Regions from separate parts of the Homo sapiens genome. Here region 2 is linked to region 1. The links are contacts of gene promoters, found by promoter capture Hi-C in blood cells and fetal thymus (Javierre and others, 2016). All regions are on one chromosome and are shown on one strand. The core of a region is centred on a gene start or on the middle of the fragment in contact, and the rest is flanking DNA. Distances in the headings are between cores, read along the strand shown. Region 1 holds the start of ATL3 (atlastin GTPase 3). Region 2 has its middle 11 kb from the start of SLC3A2.

What was found. Contacts are between HindIII fragments. The CHiCAGO score rates a contact against its expected background, and 5 or more counts as called.
Region 2: a contact is called between a fragment that was not itself captured here and the fragment with the promoter of ATL3 in region 1, in 1 of 17 cell types (megakaryocytes). The highest score is 6.5, in megakaryocytes.

What each region holds. Positions count from the first base shown.
Region 1 is chr11:63,669,102-63,674,385 of GRCh38, forward strand. ATL3 (atlastin GTPase 3) reads right to left here and starts at 2,275. Exons shown (of 13, transcript NM_015459.5): 1 at 2,189-2,275. The coding sequence starts at 2,234. RefSeq lists enhancers at 1,640-2,141, 2,142-2,641, 2,682-2,791 and silencers at 1,802-2,061, 2,092-2,151, 2,472-2,591. The HindIII fragment of the contact is 2,416 bases long and covers 1,661-4,076 here.
Region 2 is chr11:62,889,331-62,894,614 of GRCh38, forward strand. No RefSeq gene overlaps it. Among named protein-coding and RNA genes, the nearest start is that of SLC3A2, 11 kb to the left of the region's middle. The HindIII fragment of the contact is 3,063 bases long and covers 548-3,610 here.

The DNA of each region.
Region 1 (5,284 bases), core at 1,025-3,524:
GGATTACAGGAGTAAACCACAGCTCCCGGCCAAGTAAGGATTTCCTAATTAGCGCCTACTATACCAGGAAAGCCTGTCTTCTAATCTGTTAACATACTTCAGCTGTGAAATATATCTAAGGTGTTCTGACAATCGAAATACCACGCAACTGGGCCAGGCGCCGTGGCTCACACCTGCAATCCCAGCACTTTGGGAGGCCGAGCTAGGAGGATCACCTGAGGTCAGGAGTTCAAGATCAGCCTGGCAAACATGGTGAAACCCCGTCTCTACTAAAAATACAAAAATTACCCAGGCGCGGTGGAGGGCGCCTGTAATCCCAGCTACCTGGGAGGCTGCGGCAGGAGAATCGCTTGAACCTGGGAGGCGGAGGTTGCAGTGAGCAGAGATCGCGCCATTGCACTCCACCCTGGGCGAGAGAGCAAGACTCCTTCTCACCAGAAGAAAAAAAAAGAAAAGAAAAAGAAAATTAAGCTAGTACACAACACCACATCTATCCCGTTACTTCTATTTCATGAATTCTACTACAATGAGGTAGTAAACTGTAGCTAATACAATAATGGGCCGGGCACGATGGCTCACGCCTGTAATCCCAGTACTTGGGAGGCCGAGGAGAGGAGGGTGGTTCACCTGAGGTCAGGAGTTCGAGACCAGCCTGGCCAACGTGGTGAAACCCCGTTTCTACTAAAAATACAAAAAATTAGCTGGGCCTGGTGGCGGATGTCTATAATCCCAGCTACTCGGGAGGCTGACGCAGGAGAATCATTTGAACCCAGGAGGCGGAGGGTGCAGTGAGCCGAGACTGCGCCACTGTACTCCAGTTTAGGTAGCAAAAACGAAACTCCGTCTCAAAAAAAAATAGCCGCGCATGGTGGAGAGCGCCTGTAATCCCAGCTACCCGGGAGGATGAGGCAGAAGAATTGCTTGAACCCAGGAAGCGGAGGTTGCAATCAGCCGAGATCGCGCCATTGCACTCCAGCCTGGGTGACCAGAGCAAAACTCCGTCTCAAAAAATAATAATAAAACAATGTGCTGGACTACTGCAATACTGAGATCCTTCTCAGCCAAGTGTTTACAGGTGTTAGAGCGGCAACAGGAATTTCTGGAGTACAAGCTAATCTCTGTGGGAATGGAAAAAAAAAAGCACTAATTTGAATTTCAGTACCTATGTTGCAATGCTAAATTCTTGACAGGGATTAGTACTCCGTAGGTTATGCTTCTTAAATCTCCAAAAGTAAGCCAATATGTGAAATCGTACATTTTTGGTCCGTTATTCTAAGACTGACAAAACGTTCCATTGCTTCGTATTTGAATTTGAGAACTGAGACTCATTTAAAAATTCTTCACTGTTCTTTTCCTTTTTGCTCTTCGATTTCGCAAGTGAAACGGTCATTTCAACAGCACACACATTACACTAGAATAAAGCCAAGTAAAATGACAGACTAAATCAGATCCGTGAATACACGGTGACTCCTTATTTGGTTTTTAATACTTTCACTATGTTTCATGTCTTCGGGAAAGCAAAAGAACAACGTACTGTGCCAAAAGCACTAACTTACGAAAAACCAATTTAGACCAATTCTTTACAGCGTTAAGTATGGGTTGAAAACCAACTTTCCTAATACTTGTGGTCAGTGCCTCAAGGTCGTTAGGATAAAAATAAAGCTTCCAAGACACTTCGCAGCCTTCCAGCACTTCCAGAAAGGCCAAATAAACCAGCATTCACCTTCCCGCTCCATCCAGGCCCCGATTCTCCGACCAGAGAGGGCGCTGAGTGCCCGGGCACGGAGGGGCAGCGCCCTGGGGCGCCCGGCTCTGCCCAGGGCGGGGCTCGGCGGGGCCGAAGCTCCGGACGCCGCCCACGGGGACCACCGGCCCTTGGGCCGCCCAGGGGCAGCTGCAGCCCAGGGGAGGAGCTGGAGGAGCCCCCGGCGGCACCAGGGCCCGAGCCCTGACGGCGGCCGCCCCCGGCCGAAAAGTAAGGAAGGTGCCGCCCTCGCTGGACCAGCTGGGCCCGAAGAGGGGCCCCCCCACCACAAATTCGGAAACCGAGTGACCCCGGCGAGGGACGCGCGGTCCCAGCCCCGGGACGAGGAAGGGCGGCGGCGCGGGCGGGGGTTCTTTTCAGAACTACAGCAGGGAAGGCGGCGGGGGTGGCCGCGGGGCGATCCAGGGAAAATCGGCGCCTCACCTGCTCCTCTTGAGGCAGCTGCTGCCACTCGCTGAGGGGACAACATGGAGCCTCCGCCTTCAAAGCAGAAGCAGCAGGGGTGCAGAGGAGAGGGACGGGTGCGGGCGGGAACGAACCGGGCCCTGGAAGCGGGAAACGGGCGGAGCCTGGGCTCTAGAAAAAACTAGCCAGAAGGTGGGGCACGCGGAGCCGCGACGGAGCGAGCGCAGCGCGGTCTGCGTGGCCCAACGGACAGCCCGAGGCGTGGCGAGCGCAGGACGAGGCTAGGCGAGGCGGGGCGGGAAAGCGCACGCGGCAGAATCCCGCCACCGCCTGCCGCGTGTGCGCGAAGCGAGCCGCCGGGTACCTGTTGGCGGGGCGCTGAGTGCTACCGTCCTTTGGGAATTGTAGTCCCGCGCTCACTGGGTCCCGGCCAGCGGTCCTCATACTGCGCACTCATCTGGGGCGGGGCTTGGCGTGGTTCTCCGACGACTGAACTACAACTCCCAGCAGGCTGTGCGGGAAGGGGCGGGCTGGCTCGGGTCCTCCTGCGAGCTGCGGCCGGCGCCTAACGTGCAGACCAGGCCCCAGGCCGAGGCTTTATCCTGGAACCACCAGTGTGAGAGACAGCTTTGGTGTTTAACTAGGCCTGGGACCACAGGTGGGCAGAAGAGAGGCCTCAACCCTGGATGGCATGAACGTCACTGGGTCTTTAATGATTTTGACTTCATAAGGGCAGGTGGCCGTGACTTCATTACCACCTTTATTATCATCTCCCTATATTCCTGTCCCTGGCCATGGCTGATGCGCACCATCACCGCTCTGATAGCTAATGTAAGAAGTCCAGGCCGGGCGCCGTGCCTCACGCCTGTAATCCCAGCACTTTGGGAGGCCGAGGCGGGTGGATCACCTGAGGTCGTGGGCGTTCGAGACCAGCCTGACCAACATGGAGAATCCCCGTCTCTACTAAAAATACGAAATTAGCCAGGCGTAGTGGCGCACGCTTGTAATCCCAGCTAGTCCAGAGGCTGAACAGGAGAATCGCTTGAACCCAGGAGGCGGAGGTTGCAGTGAGCCGAGATCGCACCATTGCACACCAGCGTAGGCAACAGGAGCAAAACTCCATCAAAAAAAAAAAAAAAAAACTTGCACGCACATCCCAGCATTCTCTGCTCCTTTTCCCTGCATTACTTTTCTCCAAAAGACTTCATACCACTTGGCCAGGCGCGGTGGCTCACGCCTGTAATCCCAGCACTTTGGGAGGCTGAGGTGGTTGGATCACCTGAGGTCGGGAGTTCAAGACCAGCCAGGCTAACATGGTGAAACCCCATCTCTTCTAAAAATACAAAAAATTAACCAGGCGTGGTGGCAGGCGCCTGTAATCCCAGCTACTCGGGAGGCTGAGGCAGGAGAGGTTGCATTGAGTGGAGATGGCACCACTGCACTCCAGCCTGGGAGAAAGAGCAAGACTCCATCTCAAAAAAAAAAAAAAAAAAAAAGACTTCCTGCTACTATCTGACTTATGTTTTACCTTTCATTGTGTTTGTCTCTTCCCACTGAATGTAAGTTCCAAACAGATAGGAATTTTTGTCTGTTTTGTTTACTTGTATATCCCCAGTCCCTAAATACTGCTGGCAGATAATAGAGACTCAAATATCTATTGAATTAATGGATGAAGAAGATATATGTTACATCTAACACTGCTCACTCACTTTCTGGTTCCTTTAATATTAAATACCTAACTTTTACTATTGAACAAAATACCCTAGTTTATTTTAAGGGCTCCCCAGAGATTCACTGAAATCCAACTTCTCAGGAAGTGACCAGCAAATACTGATATATGTCTCAATATTACATCATCAAGGTATCAAGGTCAATGTTAGCACATCAGCATTGTAGCCCTTGTAGAAGCTTTTGGCATTTGGAACAAAACAGTACAAATTATAGGTGGACTTAAGGATTAGTCACAACTTAGAAAGCAACCCCTGTAAATGAGAAACATGTTTTGTGTTATTTCCTTCTCAAATATCCAGGGTCATCAAAACACTGGACATTGAAAGTGCCAAATATTGACAATACTGGTTACAGCCTGCCTTCAGCTATCTCACTCTGAATTGAGTTATGTGCTATGATCAGAGGTTGAGCTTCCCTTGAGGTTTTCCAGAAGTAGGTGACATGTAGACATATTTGAGTGGACAGACTACTGGCTTTGGGGTCAGACTTACCTGGCTCTGATGTTCACTAGCTATGCAACCTTGGGCGAGCTACTTAACCTCTCTGAATCCATTTCATCATCTGCAAAATGATTTAAAGACCCACACGGTTGTTCTAGGCTAAGTGAGCTGTGTGTTTGGAAATGATGACTGCGTGGTTAGTGATCAAAATTAGTAATCAGCATATTCATTCTGGAAAAGCAAAATAAAGTCATAAATATTCAAGATACTCAAGTGGTTTATGAAACACAAAAATAGCAAAATTGTTTTCTGCAATGGCATCCACCATGACTCAGGTTCCAAAGCTTTCCAAAAATAGGTCATTTGTTATATGCCAGGTACCGTGATAGGCCATAATGCTGCATAAGACACATTCCTATCCTCCAGAGACTCGCAGTCCTGTGGGATAGACAGCTGAGGAAATATCATTCACTGTGACTGTACTGGGACACAGTTCAGCTTTCTGCCCTCTATGTGCAGGATCATTATTTAAGCAACTTGGAAGGGACAAGTTGGAATACTACATCCCTGGGCATCATTTAAATTTCCATACCTTATTTTGCATGTGTGTAAAATGGGGTAATGATTTGGCATCTTCATTTGTAAAAAGAAAATAGCCAACCCCACTTGATAGGGTCTTATAAAGTTGAATATTAGGTCCTCAACATGGTAACATACTGAAAGCTTAAGACCTTGTCAGCTACTTCATTATTGGTATTTCAGCCAACAGCACAGCGGTCTAACTGGGAGGATCTCTTGAGCCCAGGAGTTCAAGACCAGTCTGGGGGCTGGGGGCAGTGGCTCACACCTGTAATCCCTACACTTTGGGAGGCCGAGGCAGGTGGATCACCTGAGGTCAGGAGTTGGAGACCAGCCTGGCCAACATGGTGAAATCCCGTCTGTA
Region 2 (5,284 bases), core at 829-3,328, 780 kb before region 1:
GAGCAAAGAAAAAAGACACAGCTGTTGTAGTGCAGAGGATATGGTGACAGTGTTTTTATGGAGGAAAAAGTAAAGCAGGAAAGGTGTTTCAGGGTAGAGGGGGCCAAAGGAGGCCTCACCACGGAGGTGACCTGTGAGTAAAGGCCTAATAAGTGAGGGAGTTCACCTGGTGAGTATCTGGGGAAGGGGCTTCCTGGGACTGAGGGGTGGGAGCCTGGCTGATATGAATGAGGAAAGGAGTAAGGGATGAAGTCTCATCGGCAAGGAGTGGGCAGATCATGACAGTTGTAATAAGGTGGTCACGTAGGGTGCAGAGAGTTTGGCAGCCTACGTGGTTGGAGGGCATGGTCCCCACAAGTCTGTTTTCACTTCAATACCAGCTGCAAGTTCAGGGGTCCCCATGACCACCTTCAGGTAGGTAATAGACTAGAGTGACTCAGAACTCAGGAAGGTATTGGGATTATGGTTTTATTACAGCAAAAGCATACCCAGAGCCAGCCAAAAGATGAGAGGCCTGGGGCGGGGTCTGGGAGGGAGCTAAATAAGAAGCTTCCTGCTATCTTGCAATGGAGTCCTGGTACTTCTTCCCGGCCATGACGGAGATATAACCAGAGAAGCTCACTTGATCCTTGGGTGTGCCGAGTTTCCCCTGGTGTTTAATCACATAGTGCCCTGTGGCTGACCTTTAATCTTCAGCCCCTGTGAGAGCTTTGGGCTAAGGCCTTTAGTTGTCTCCATTTCCCCCAGAGGTTGCCTGTTCCAAAGCTCAGATCGTAAATCACATTTATCACTGACACTCCTGTTGGTCAGGACATTCCATGGGTCTAGAGGGCACTTACCAGTAGCCGAGGGTAAAGGCCAGACTTCCAAGTAAGAATTCTTCACTACACATAGAGTCTGAGGGAGTGGAATGGGAGTTGTTGGAGGGTTTTGAGCAGAGTGACATGGTCTCGCTTGGAATTTAACAGACTTCACTGGCTGTTACTAGCCAGCTTGCAGGGAGGCCAGTTAAGATGGTTTGTTCCTGCAACCTAGAATACTTTCTAGGATGGTAGTAGTGGAGGTGGTAAGAAGTGTTAAGAAGTGTTTGGGTCCTGCGTTTCTTTTTTTTTTTTTTTTTTTTTGAGACTCACTCTTGTCACCTAGGCTGGAGTGCAGTGGTGCGACCGCTGCAAGCTCCGCCTCCCAGGTTCATGCCATTCTCCTGCCTCAGCCTCCCGAGTGGCTGGGACTACAGGCGCCCGCCACCACACCCGTCTAATTTTTTTGTATTTTTAGTAGAGACGGGGATTCACCGTGTTAGCCAGGATGGTCTCGATCTCCTGATCTCGTGATCCGCCCACCTCGGCCTCTCAAAGTGCTGGGATTACAGGCGTGAGCCACGTGCCTGGCTGGTCCTGCGTTTATTGTGCAAGCAGATCTGCAGTATTTGCTGTTGGGATCCTGTTGCAGTACTAGTGATCTGCGCAGGCCTCATGGCCCTTGGAGTTAGTTCGGCTCTCTTAGTTTTCTTACAGAAAAGAATGCTGGCTGGGTGCGGTGGCTCGTGCCTGTAATCCCAGCACTTTGGGAGGCCGAGGCAGTTGGATCACCTGAGGTCAGGAGGTCGAGAACAGCCTGACCAATATGGCAAAACCCCGTCTCTACTGAAAATACAAAAATTAGCCGGGCATGGTGGTGGGCGCCTGTAATCCCAGCTACTCGGGAGGCTGAGAAAGGAGAATTGCTTGAACCTGGGAGGCGGAGGTTGCAGTGAGCAAGATCACACCACTGCACTCCAGCCTGGGCAAAAGAGCAAGACTCAGTCTCGGAAAAAAAAAAACAAAACAAAAAACGCGGGTCACTGGTGCAGGCTTCACTTCCCATGGGCTGTGTCCTGGAGTGGGCCTGGGCCTCTGAGGGTTTCCTGGTGTAGGGGAGAGATCAAGACATTAAAAGACCCAAATTAAGGCCCAGGATCCTGAGGCTGTCAGCACAGTTCCTGAGAAGACACTCAGCCTGCTGGGCCTTGGCTTCCCTCTGCCTAGGGTTTCCCTTCTCTCTCAGCAACCACCCCCACACCCGCCCCACCTTCTGGCTGTTGCCTGCTCTGGGCCTCTTCCTGAGGCTCCCCACCCTTCCCTGTCCATGTCCTTTCCCAGGGTCCCAGCTCCAGCCCTCCCCCTTTCCTCCTTCCTCTGCCTCCTGGACTCCCCTCTTAACACAGTTTTTATCTTAGTGCTATTATGGATGGAGCCTCATTATGGTTATGTGCTTATTTAATTTTCATCTTTTCCCCCGTCCTAACCACTAGACCACCAGGGAGATTTTCACTTAAGAAAAGTATAGTAAGGCCAACTGGTGGCTCATGCTTGTAATCCTAGCACTTTGGGAGGCTGAGGTGGGAGGGTTTCTTGAGGCCAGGAGTTTGAGACCAACCTGGGCAACATAGTGAGACCCCTGTCTCTATTAAAAAAAAAAATTAGCTGGGCATGGTTGCATGTGCCTGTAGTCCCAGCTAACCTGGAAGCTAAGGCGGGAAGATCACTTGAACTCTGGAGGTTGAGGCTGCAGTGAGGTATGATTGCACCACTGCACTCCAACCTGGGTGACAGAGTGAGACCCTGTCTCAAAAAAAAAAAAAAAAAAAAAAAAATTATAAGATACATGGCATAAAATTTACTATTTTATTTATTTATTTTTGAGATGGAATCTTGCTCTTTCGCCCAGGCTGGAGTGCAGTGGTATTCATCTGGACTCACTGCAACCTCCGCCTCCCGGGTTCAGGTGATTCTCCTGCCTCAGCCTCCTGAGTAGCTGGGAATTACAGGTGCCTGCCACCACACCCAGCTAATTTTTGTATTTTTAGTAGAGACGGTTTCACCATGTTGGCCAGGCTGGTCTTGAACTCGTGACCTCAAGTCATCTGCCCTTCTTGGCCTCCCAAAGTGCTGGAATTACAGGCATGAGCCACTGCGCCCGGCTGTTAGCAAGCATTTTTGAGTTACTGCTCTGTCTCTGGTACCATGCTCAACTTTCTGGGTACAGGGGTGAACAAGACCCTGTTCTGACATGATTTCCAACCTCCAAAGGACCAAGCGCTTGAAATGATAAGCACTGAGAACCTCTCTTAAGGGTTAAGGGCACCACAAACTGAGATAATGTAACAATGTAGCAAGTCATTGGTTTAATGACTTTCACTTTTAAGTCATTATGACACACACCTAGGAGGACTGTGGGAACCCTGTTCATGGAGGCTGAGGGCTCAGAGAAGTAAAGGGACCCTTCTAGACACAGCAATGGAGCTGCCATTCAGACCCAGGCCTTAGTACCATGGTCAAGCCCCATGTGCCAATGGACTTGGTCCTTCCTGGGATCCCTGGCCAATTACCTGCCTTTGGCTCATGGGTCAGGGTGGATATCTCTGTCAGCCTGAGCCATTCTTCTGGTTCCAATTGATGTGCTACATGTTGGGGACATAAACGGAACTAAAATACTGTCCTGCTGATCTGATTTTCACTGATCAGGAGTGAAAGCAGATGTGTAAGTAACCGGGGGTGAGATAAAGGCTGTAGAGCACCAGGCCCTGTGATGGACCGAGGAGGAGCTTAACCCCAGAGGGATCAGGAAAAGCTTCCTGGAGCCTTCATTTGAGCTGAGATTGAGGCACCAGAAGGCATTCACGTTATGCATGTGAAGGAAAAGGCCACCGGGTATAGGTGACATTATGTACCACTGCTCAGTTGAGACAGCCTGACGAATGTGAGGAACTGTAACTGGGACATAAAGTGTGATTTTGGACAAATTGGGAGAGTGGTGAGAGCCAACCAGAGGCTGAAGCACAAAGGGCTTTAACAGCCATGGCTCAAGTTGTCTGTACTTTACCCCATCATGTAGATCAGTGGTTCCCAGCCTGGTTATGCAGAATCCTCTGGAAAAAATTTTCCCATCCAACTTACACCAAATCAGAATCTCCAAGGGGCATATGCTGTGAATCTCCAAGGGTGTGAGCTTGGACGTTTATTTTAATTTTATTTTATTACTTTTTTTGAGAAGCAGTCTCACTCTGTCACCCAGGCTGGAGTGCAATGGCACAATCTCGGCTCACTGCAACCTACGCCTCCCGGGTTCAAGCGATTCTCCTGCTCCAGCCTCCTGAGTAGCTGGGATTACAGGTGCCCACTATCATGCCCCACTCAATTTTTGTATTTTTTTTAGTAGAGACGGGGTTTCACCATGTTCAGGCTGGCCTCAAACTCTCGACCTCAGGTGATTCGCCCGCCTTGGCCTCCCAAAGTTCTGAGATTATTGGCGTGAGCCACCGTGCCTGGCTGGAAGTTTATTTTTAGCCACCTTCCCCAAATGATTCTTAAAGCAGATCAGTGTTTCCCAAGTGTGCTGAGTTATGCCCGAGGGCAATGATTAGAAATAAAAGCCTTCTCCTGCGCAATGGCTTGGGCCTGTAATCCCAGCACTTTGGGAGGCCGAGGCGGGCAGATCACGAGGTCAAGAGATTGAGACCATCCTGGCCAACATGGTGAAACCCTGTCTCTTCTAAAATAACAAAAAGTGGCTGGGCGTGGTGGCTCACGCCTGTAATCCCAGCACTTTGGGAGGAGGAGGCGGGCGGATCACGAGGTCAGGAGATCGAGACCATCCTGGCTAACACGGTGAAACCCCGTCTCTACTAAAAATACAAAAAACTAGCCGGGTGTGGTGGCTGGCGCCTGTAGTCCCAGCTACTCAGGAGGCTGAGGTAGAAGAATGGCATGAACCTGGGGGGCGGAACTTGGAGTGAGCCGAGATCGTGCCACTGCACTCCAGCCTGGGCCACAGAGCGAGACTCCGTCTCAAAAAAAAAAAAAAAAAAAAAAAAAAAATTAGCTGGGCGTGGTGGCGTGTGCCTGTAGTCTCAGCTACTTGGGAGGTTGAGGCAGGAGAATTGCTTGAACCCTGGAGGCGGAGGTTGCAGGTTGTAATAAGCCGAGATTGCGCCACTGCACTCCAGCCTGGTGACAGATCGAGACTCCGTCTCAAAAAAAAAAGAAAGAAAAGCCTTGAATTTTTCTCCTGGATGTTTTGATTCAGAAGGTCTGGGATGGGACACTAGAACCCATGTAACAAGCTCAGCTAAGAACAAGAGAAAGAACAAAAAAAGAACAAGAGGCCGGGCGCGGTGGCTCACGCCTGTAATCCCAGCACTTTGGGCGGCCGAGGTGGGAGGATCATGAGGTCAGGAGATCGAGACCATCCTGGCTAACATGGTGAAACCCCATCTCTACTAAAAATACAAAAATTAGCTGGC